Regions from separate parts of the Homo sapiens genome. Here region 1 is linked to region 2. The links are contacts of gene promoters, found by promoter capture Hi-C in blood cells and fetal thymus (Javierre and others, 2016). All regions are on one chromosome and are shown on one strand. Each heading gives the region's core, a stretch centred on a gene start or on the middle of the fragment in contact. The rest is flanking DNA. Distances are from core to core; before and after follow the strand shown.

Region 1 (4,368 bases), core at 344-2,843, 260 kb before region 2:
GGGCCAACCCTGTGTATTCACTGCCCTGAGTTTTATTAAGCAAATTAATCTTAAACACAGACATTGAGTGAAGCCACCAGCCAGCCTCCTGTAATTGATTCTGGTGGAATCACTGAATCAAGAACACTGCAGGCAGTGGGTCTTATTCATGTTTGTTCCCTCAGCAACCAGCAGGATGCCTGGTATACAGTAGGACATCAATAAATGCTTATTGTGAAGTTCTTGAAGCAGCAGATGCTTCCTATAGCTGAAGTATTTCAGCTTCTAGAGACCACAGATGTCTGCCACCTGGCTGAGCACCCCAGTCAGACCCACACTGATCAGGACCACCACACCATGGCAACCAGAAAGGAACACCAGACTATTATGTATGAATACCACGATCGCTTCCTAGCTCTTATTTCAAAGTGATACAGACTACTCACTAACACTTTAAAAATGTGCAAATTTTGCCACCAAAAATAAATGAATTTGGAAATACAAAAGTTTAGAACAAAAAGCTACGGAGCTAACTTAAAAGACACAAACTTTGGGCTCCCTTATTAACAATGTGTTGAAGACAAGAGCAATCATTCTCCCCAAACTATAATACAGTGCTTAAAGCCGTAAGTAAAAGAAAAACCAAAAGGACTGTCACCTGACTGTACAGCCAGGTTCTTCCATCACATGCACAAGCTCCTCCATGCCTTCCTACCCGTGTTTCTCAGGAGCAGGACAGGATTTTACCATACTGAGAGCAGAGGGGAACTCCCACCACAATTCCAGCCCATAGACATATTCACCCACAAACCATTCAGTGGTACCCAAGTCGACAGACCTTCTTCAAGAGATGTCTCACTAAGAGGATGTGGTGGAAAGGGAATCCCTGCATGCTGTTTGTGGGACTGTAAATTAGTGAAGCCACTGTGGAAAACAGTATGGGGGTTCCTTAAAAGATTAAAAATAGGACTAGCATATGATCCAGCAATCCTACTACCGGGTACTTGCCCAAAGAAAATGAAATCGCTGTGTCAAAGCGATATCTGCACTCCCATGTTCATGGCCGCACTATTCACAACAGCTAAGATATGGAATCAACCTAAGTGGCCATCAGTGGATAAATGGATAAATAAAATATGGTGTATACCGTATATACACAATGAAATATCATTCAGGCGCAAAAGAGAAAGAAATCGTCTGCAACAACATGAACATAGAGGACATCATGTTAAATGAAGTAAGCCAGGCAAAGAAAGGCTAATACTACATGACCTCACTTAGATGTAGACTCTAAAAAAGTCAAACTTACAGAAGTAGAGAGTAGAATGGTGGTTACCAGGGGCTGGGGGTGGGGTTTGGAGAGATGTTGGTAAAAAGATACAAAATTTCAGTTAGCTAGGGGGAATACAGTATAAACATGGTGACTACAGTAAATAAATAGCTGAGAGTAGAACTGAGTTCTCACCACAGAAAATGTTAAGTATGTGAAGTATTGCATGTTACTTAGCTTGATTGAACCATTCCAATTTTAAAACATCATGTTGTATACCCTAAATATACGGAATTTTTGTCAAAAAATGCATATATAAAAAGAGATGCCTCACCAGCTTAATCATCTTTTTAAAAACAAAACAAAACAAAACAAAAAAAACAGCAGCCGGGTGCGGTGGCTCACACCTGTAATCCCAGCACTTTGAGAGGCTGAGGCGGGCGGATCATGAGGTCAGGAGATTGAGACTATTCTGGCTAACACGGTGAATCCCCATCTCTACTAAAAATACAAAAAAAAAAAAAAATTAGCCGGGTTTGATGGCACGTGCCTGTAGTCCCAGCTACTCAGGAGACTGAGGCAGGAGAATGGCGTGAACCCGGGAGGCGGAGCTTACAGTAAGCTGAGATTGTGCCACTGCACTCCAGCCTGGGTGACAGAGTGAGACTCAGTCTCAAAAAAAAAAAAAAACCAGCATCACTGTGTCTAGAATTCACAAGACAACCAGGAAATATCTTAAGCAACGACAGAAAAGGCAGAAATGTATGTCCCAACACTGAGCCCAGGCTCAGCACGGGGCAGAACAAGCCGAGCGACCTCCCACCTGGCATATCTTCACTTGGAAGGTGGGACGCACACCAACAGGTTTTGCTGGAATGATGCCCTCCTGCTTTGAGTAGGAGGATCCTTAACTCCAGGGCCATAACACATTGCACAACCAAGGGCTTGGCCTGGGCTTTGCCACTCACCCATGAGATTAACAGAGGAAGTAGTTTGTTGGTTTTGAGGTTTTCAAAAGGAGGAAGGATTTTGCGCCCAGTATGCTAACCTCCTTAGCTGCGCTCCGGAAAACAGCACTTAAAGGGTTGCCCAACTTGTGGGACTTGTCTCGACAGTAAACACCTCATAGAACATGCCTGGTTATGAGGGGGCACACCTGACAGGAAAGTCCAGGACTCACAGATGAGGGGCCTTGAAGAGCCACTGTGAATCACTGCTGTGTTATCACATACTGTGTGTAAGTGCATGGGTGTAAAATAAACACACACAGCCTGGAAACCTGTTTTATTCAGAGTATAAGCTCAGATGTCAACATCTTTCTCTGCCTAGATCTATCACTTACTTTACTTTCATTCTTACATCTAACTCCTGACCTCTTAATCCTCCTGAAGACATCACCAGAAATGTCTCATACTTCATGCCTGCGTTTAAGGTACAAAGTGTAGCTTTGGATAGGTTTTTAAAAGGTTCCTGTTTAGGTTATGCTCCAAAGGAAAGCCCATCTTGACACTTCCTCTCCCATAAGGATGAGCGTGAAGAGAGCCAAAGTTGGACGAGTCCAGGTTTAATCTCCTATCTCTGATGATTAAAAGACAAAATATTTATTTAAAACACGGCCAAACAGCCACTGACATCTGTGCAATTTTTGGTGGCTATGTTGGACTATTCATGGGGGTCAAATAAATAAAAATGGCCAAGCCTATGAGTAAACTTTTCCTCATGGTAAAGTTTCCCAAGATAATGTGCTAATTGAAATACACGCCAGCTGACCCTAGAAGTAGGGCCTATTTAGAAAATTTTAAAAGTACATATTTTTTATTTCCTCAGAAACACAGCCTTTTCTGTGTATAGATTCAGGCTCTCTCTGGATGGGGCAGAGAACCACAGGCTGAGGAGTATCAGCTGCCATCGCAGCACATAAGCACGTCTGTTACCATCAGGGTCCCCAGGTTAGAATAAGGAAATTGTCTTTCTACTTTTAAACATTCTGGGGCCTAAGAACATCTTCTTAGTCTCATTTATTTTCACTCCTTAGGTGTTGTCTGAAAATAATGAAAGTCAAACTTTTTCTGAGAATCAGTGGTTCTAATCCTTTTTTTTTTTTTTTTTTTGAGACGGAGTCTCGCCCAGTCGCCTAGGCTGGAGTGCAGTGGTGCCATCCTGGCTCTCTGTAACCTCTGCCTCCCACCTTCAAGCCATTCTCCTGCCTCAGCCTCCTGAGTAGCTGGGACTACAGGTGCACACCACTATGCCCAGCTAATTTTTTTTTTAATTTTTAGTAGAGACGGGGTTTCACCATGTTAGCCAGGCCGGTCTTGAACTCCTGACTTCAGGCGATCCACCCACCTCGGCCTCCCAAAGTGCTGGGATTACAGGCAGGAGCTACTGCGCCTGGCCCTAATCTTGAAGCATCAGCCTCAAGCAACCACCTTTCCAGGAAAGTGTCCCTGGATACAAACTCAATGTATTGTTCTCCCTCCCTTTCACTGGCCTTTTACAACTCAATTCCTGCCCTCCTGTATAATACCCAACAGCAGAGCTCCTAGGAGTCAAATCCTGGGCTCTGACACAAAGTTTCACCCTGGGCAGGCCTCCAGTTTGGGGGCAGCACCAGGGACCTCAATGTCAGCAAAATCACGAATCAAACACTGATGTCCGATGACAGTTCTCACTGAGAACATATTCCATTGTATTTTAAAGTTATGGAAAATCTTCATACGGTGTTTAAAAGTGTTCATGTGCTGCTTCTTGGTTTACAGTTTTATCTGTTTTGTTTTGTTTTGTTTTGTTTCTGCCGGCTCAAAGCCAACAGCAGGATTTTCACCAAGTTTCCAGTTTTGGAGTAAGAAGCACGCCTGAAGACAGCCAACCTGGAGACAGCCTGCGTGCACCCCAGCGGAGCTTCCCCAGTTACCATTCCCCTCTGCTACTGCTCATCTTCTCATCACTCTTATTTGTCCCTACTCTAGAAAAGAAAATAAGAAGGAATTTTGAATAATGCATGCTCTGTGTTCATCAGTGTTCATTAACGTAACAAGCACATAACTAAAAATACAATAATAGGGCTTATCACGGAAAGCAAGGGTGGCCTGGCTCACCCACTCCACTCCCAGCCCTGC
Region 2 (3,989 bases), core at 34-2,533:
GAACTCCTGATCTCAGGTGATCCGCCTGCCTCGGCCTCCCAAAGTGCTGGGATTACAGGAGTGAGCCACCACACCCAGCCTGATTCAGGGTCTTTATGTAAAATATCCATAACATATCTGTTGGATTCACCCTCTGGTACGTCAGTGGCCAGAGAGATGGGAGAAGAATGATGGGAGACAGTTTTTTAGCACTTATAATGAGAGGCAATGTTGTAAGGACTTGGCAGTAGTAATACTCCCCATTTTACAGGTAAAGCAGCTGAAGCCAGATATTAGGTAACTTGTGTGTGGGGGGGCCACACAGCTTGTAAATTTCATTTGATCCTGATTTCAGAGCCCTTGCTCTTATTACACTATATTGTACTCAGAGTGACACCAAAAAAACAAAATACCACGCCCCCCTCCCCCAACACACACACAAACACACATATATAAAACCCTCACTGCCCTTTAAAGGAAGTCTCTTCACAGCTTCTATTTTGCCAAGTTTCTGTTACCACCATTCCCAACCTGGACATAAATGTTGCCAAAGCACTGCATAGAATTCATTGTGATTTTTTCCCCTCAGGCACATAGAAAAGATACGTTTAGTCTAAGTAAACACAAGTATAAACCACACAACAGACTTTTTTTTCACTTATCTAATTAGTAGTATTTAGCATTTAAAAAGCAAAGATTGGTACTCTTTGCTGGCGGGAGGGTAAATTGGTAAAATGTTTTTGTAGACCAAAAAGTACCGTTTTATATCTAAAGCTTTAGAAAATATACCCTTTGCCCTAGGAATTCTACCCCTGAGATTCTATCCTGAGAAATAATCTTATATTTCTAATAATTCCTATAGCATAGGAATATTCTATATTAAAATAACTTTGTTCCTTTTCCTTCATACTAAGTTATCCTGAAATATTGGCATTATTTGCATAGTTTTGCTTGATACTGTCTTTTGTCATTGTGAGTTTATACAGTAGTACATGAAGTGAGCCCTATTTTTTGACAAAGATATTTCTGGTGGACCCATCGCTTTCAGTCAACTTTATAAGAACTAACTAGACCTACCAGTCAGCAGAGAGAGTAAACTTACATTATTAATATAATTTTTGTTAGAAGTGATGGTAGCTTGTTCTTAAATAGATTGTTTTCCTTTTTACCTTTTACCTTAAAACTTAGGCTTTTAAAGTTTTTCTTTAAAAAGTTTGTTGAAAAAGCAAAAGATCTTGTACTTACATATCAGTGACTCGTTCGGGTCTCTGTGTAGTAGCTGTGAGTAGTTGTCCAAACTGAAGTAAGTTTTAACTGTGGCATGTTGTTTTAAGAGAGGCTGTGCAGACCTCCTTTTATGGTGGTGACTTTTTTTTTCTCTGTCACCCTGTGACTGAGCATGTAATGAGCAGTTAGCCTCGTGTACGTGTGTGCACTTTGTGTTTTTTTTTGTTTTAAATGGGAAGTGAAATTTTTTATAGTGATTAAAAAAAACTATCCAAAAGCCCCTTGGAATTTATGAATTGTTGATATCTGTGGAACTTTATAAATTTTTCTGTAAAGGTTTAAGTATCAAAAAATTCTTTGAAAGAGACTGAAGCAATAAACCTTAACCAAAAAAAAGACCAAGTTACTGATGATTTTATATTGATTTTGCATGTAAAAGTATGGGTTTTTAAATGTTTTAAGGAAAATAGTGTCAACTTTGACAGTGCTTTTTACCTGGAAACTTGGTATCAGGGAGTAGTTTACACATTCCACCTTATCCACAGCTTATGAGAAAGAAACAGGTTTCTGTGGCGTGGGGGTGAGTGACAGTCCAGGATGTGGAGTGGACTGGATTAGTCGCCGTTTTCAGTCGAGAGGCTGCCTGAGTCAGAGGCTGTGTGAGTACTTGAATAACAGGGAAACAGTTGAAGGGAGGCCCATTATAGATAAAATCCAGCCTCTTCAGCACAGGGTGAAAGAGACTCATGCCATTCACCTCATAGTTGTAGTTGACTCAGTTTAAACCAACTAACGTGTCTGTCAGAATGCAGTTTATTTGTAGGCTAAATTACCAGATATGTAGCACTCAGATCAGGAGAGGTGATGTTTACACTTAGTCAGGACTGATCTGGCCATTCCCAGCCACTTCTGGGTGCTGCTTTTTACGAAGACATAGATAACACCTGTGGCAGTGAGGGGCCTGGATAGCAGGTCTTAGGAGAACTGATTAAATAAGCTGGGGATGTGTATGCTTTGTAGGCATAGGGTCATTATCCTTATGCTTGTGGAAACTCTCATAGAAAAGTGTTTACATTGCTTGTGTCAGTCTTCCTAACTCCAGAGACTAGCGGGAGGGTCAGTAAGAAGTTACTGGACATAGCTTTTGGATCAAAAGATGAGAGTCATTCCCAAAAGTTGTGATTATTTTGAAAAATGGAATATGCTGTTTCTTATTTAGATGCTTGAGTAAACTTGATGATTTTGAGGGATGATGTAAACAGAATTGAATCATTTGGTAGGAATTTGTAACTCTGTGATCTCAGAAGCCTTTCTGCTCCAGGATTCTGTAAAAATAGTCGAGTAGCTTTTGCCTCCCACAGATGTCATTAGGTTCTTCTAACGTCTAAAGTGCTGTGAGTATGGAGGAACATTGTCAGACACAAGAAAGAGCATCAAGCAAGTCAGCTGAATTCTTTGGGCCGCCACCTCACTGTGTATAAAATAAAGGTATTGAACTAAATGATCTCCAAGGTAATTCCTAGTACAAAAATTCTATGAGGGGGTAATACAGAGATTTTATGACTTGGTGGATAAACATGACATCATATTCTAGAACTAGTTCATTTAAAACTTAGGCTGCAGAGTACTTGAAGAAGACACTGTTGATAAATTTTTCAGTTTGTTGAAAGACCATTCTGGTGGGGTTTTGCCTGTTAATTTTGAAATAGTTATATTAAGTAAAACATTTTTATATAGTGAAGGACTCAGCTAGTTCAAGTAATTCCTCTGACAAACTGGATCTGTCCTCCCAACCTTCTTTTTTTTTTTTGAGACAGAGTCTCGCTCTCACCAGGCTGGAGTGCAGGGGTGTGCTGTCGGCTCACTGCAACCTCCACCTCCCGGCTTCAAGCAATTCTCCTGCCTCAGCCTCCCGAGTAGCTGGGACTACAGGCATATGCCACCATGCCCAGCTAATTTTTGTATTTTTAGTAGAGACAAGGTTTCACCATGTTGGCCAGGATGGTCTCAATCTCTTGACCTCATGATCTGCCTGCATTGGCCTCCCAAAGTGCTGGGATTACAGGTGTGAGCCACCGTGCCCAGCCCCTTTTTTTTGATATCAGAGTAGTCAGGCAGATGAAGAAGAGGTGATGGGGTCATTATCCTGTAAGAGGCCGCTGAAGCTGTATATTAGATCATTTCATGAGCTCACAAACCTTGTTTTTATTGCTGTTGAAAGTTACCAGGGTTTCTTGAGTTGTGATTGTACTGTAAAAGTAGAGTTGGCCTTTACAGTTTTTTTGTTTGTTTGTTTGGAGACAGGGTCTCACTCTGTTGCCCAGGCTGGAGTGCAGTGGCACGATCTTGGCTCACTGCAACCTCTGCCTCCTGGGCTCAAGTGATCCTCCCACCTCAGCTTCCTAAGTAGCTGGGGCTACAGGCACATGCCACCACGCCCAGCTAATTTTTGTATTTTTTTGTGTGTGTGTGTGGAGACAAGGTCTCATTATGTTGCCCAGGCTGGTCTCAAACTCCTGACCTCAAGCCATCTGCCCACCTTGGCTTCCCAAAGTGCTGGGATTACAGGTATGAGCCACCACATCCAGTGACCTTTTCTATAGAAGAAGTGAAATGGACATTTGCAACCTTAACAAGGTGTCTCTGTTATTTTATGTTTTCTATCGAGTGCGATCATGAATATATAGCAGTAGATGCTCAGTAAATATTAGTGATTTTAAAGGATGAATTAGCAATGGCTCACGCCTGTAATCTCAGCAATTCAGAAGGCTGAGGCAGGAGGA

Evidence for each region. Contacts are between HindIII fragments. The CHiCAGO score rates a contact against its expected background, and 5 or more counts as called.
Region 1: a fragment that was not itself captured here is called in contact with the fragment with the promoter of GPR183 in region 2 in 1 of 17 cell types (non-activated CD4 T cells); the score reaches 5.2 in non-activated CD4 T cells.

What each region holds. Positions count from the first base shown.
Region 1 is chr13:99,044,177-99,048,544 of GRCh38, forward strand. It overlaps a transcript of DOCK9 not described here. Among named protein-coding and RNA genes, the nearest start is that of DOCK9-DT, 40 kb to the right of the region's middle. The HindIII fragment of the contact is 6,261 bases long and covers 1-4,368 here.
Region 2 is chr13:99,306,116-99,310,104 of GRCh38, forward strand. It overlaps GPR183 (G protein-coupled receptor 183), which reads right to left and starts at 1,284. Exons shown (of 2, transcript NM_004951.5): 1 at 1,225-1,284. All of the region lies in intron 4 of UBAC2 (UBA domain containing 2), which reads left to right. The HindIII fragment of the contact is 4,315 bases long and covers 752-3,989 here.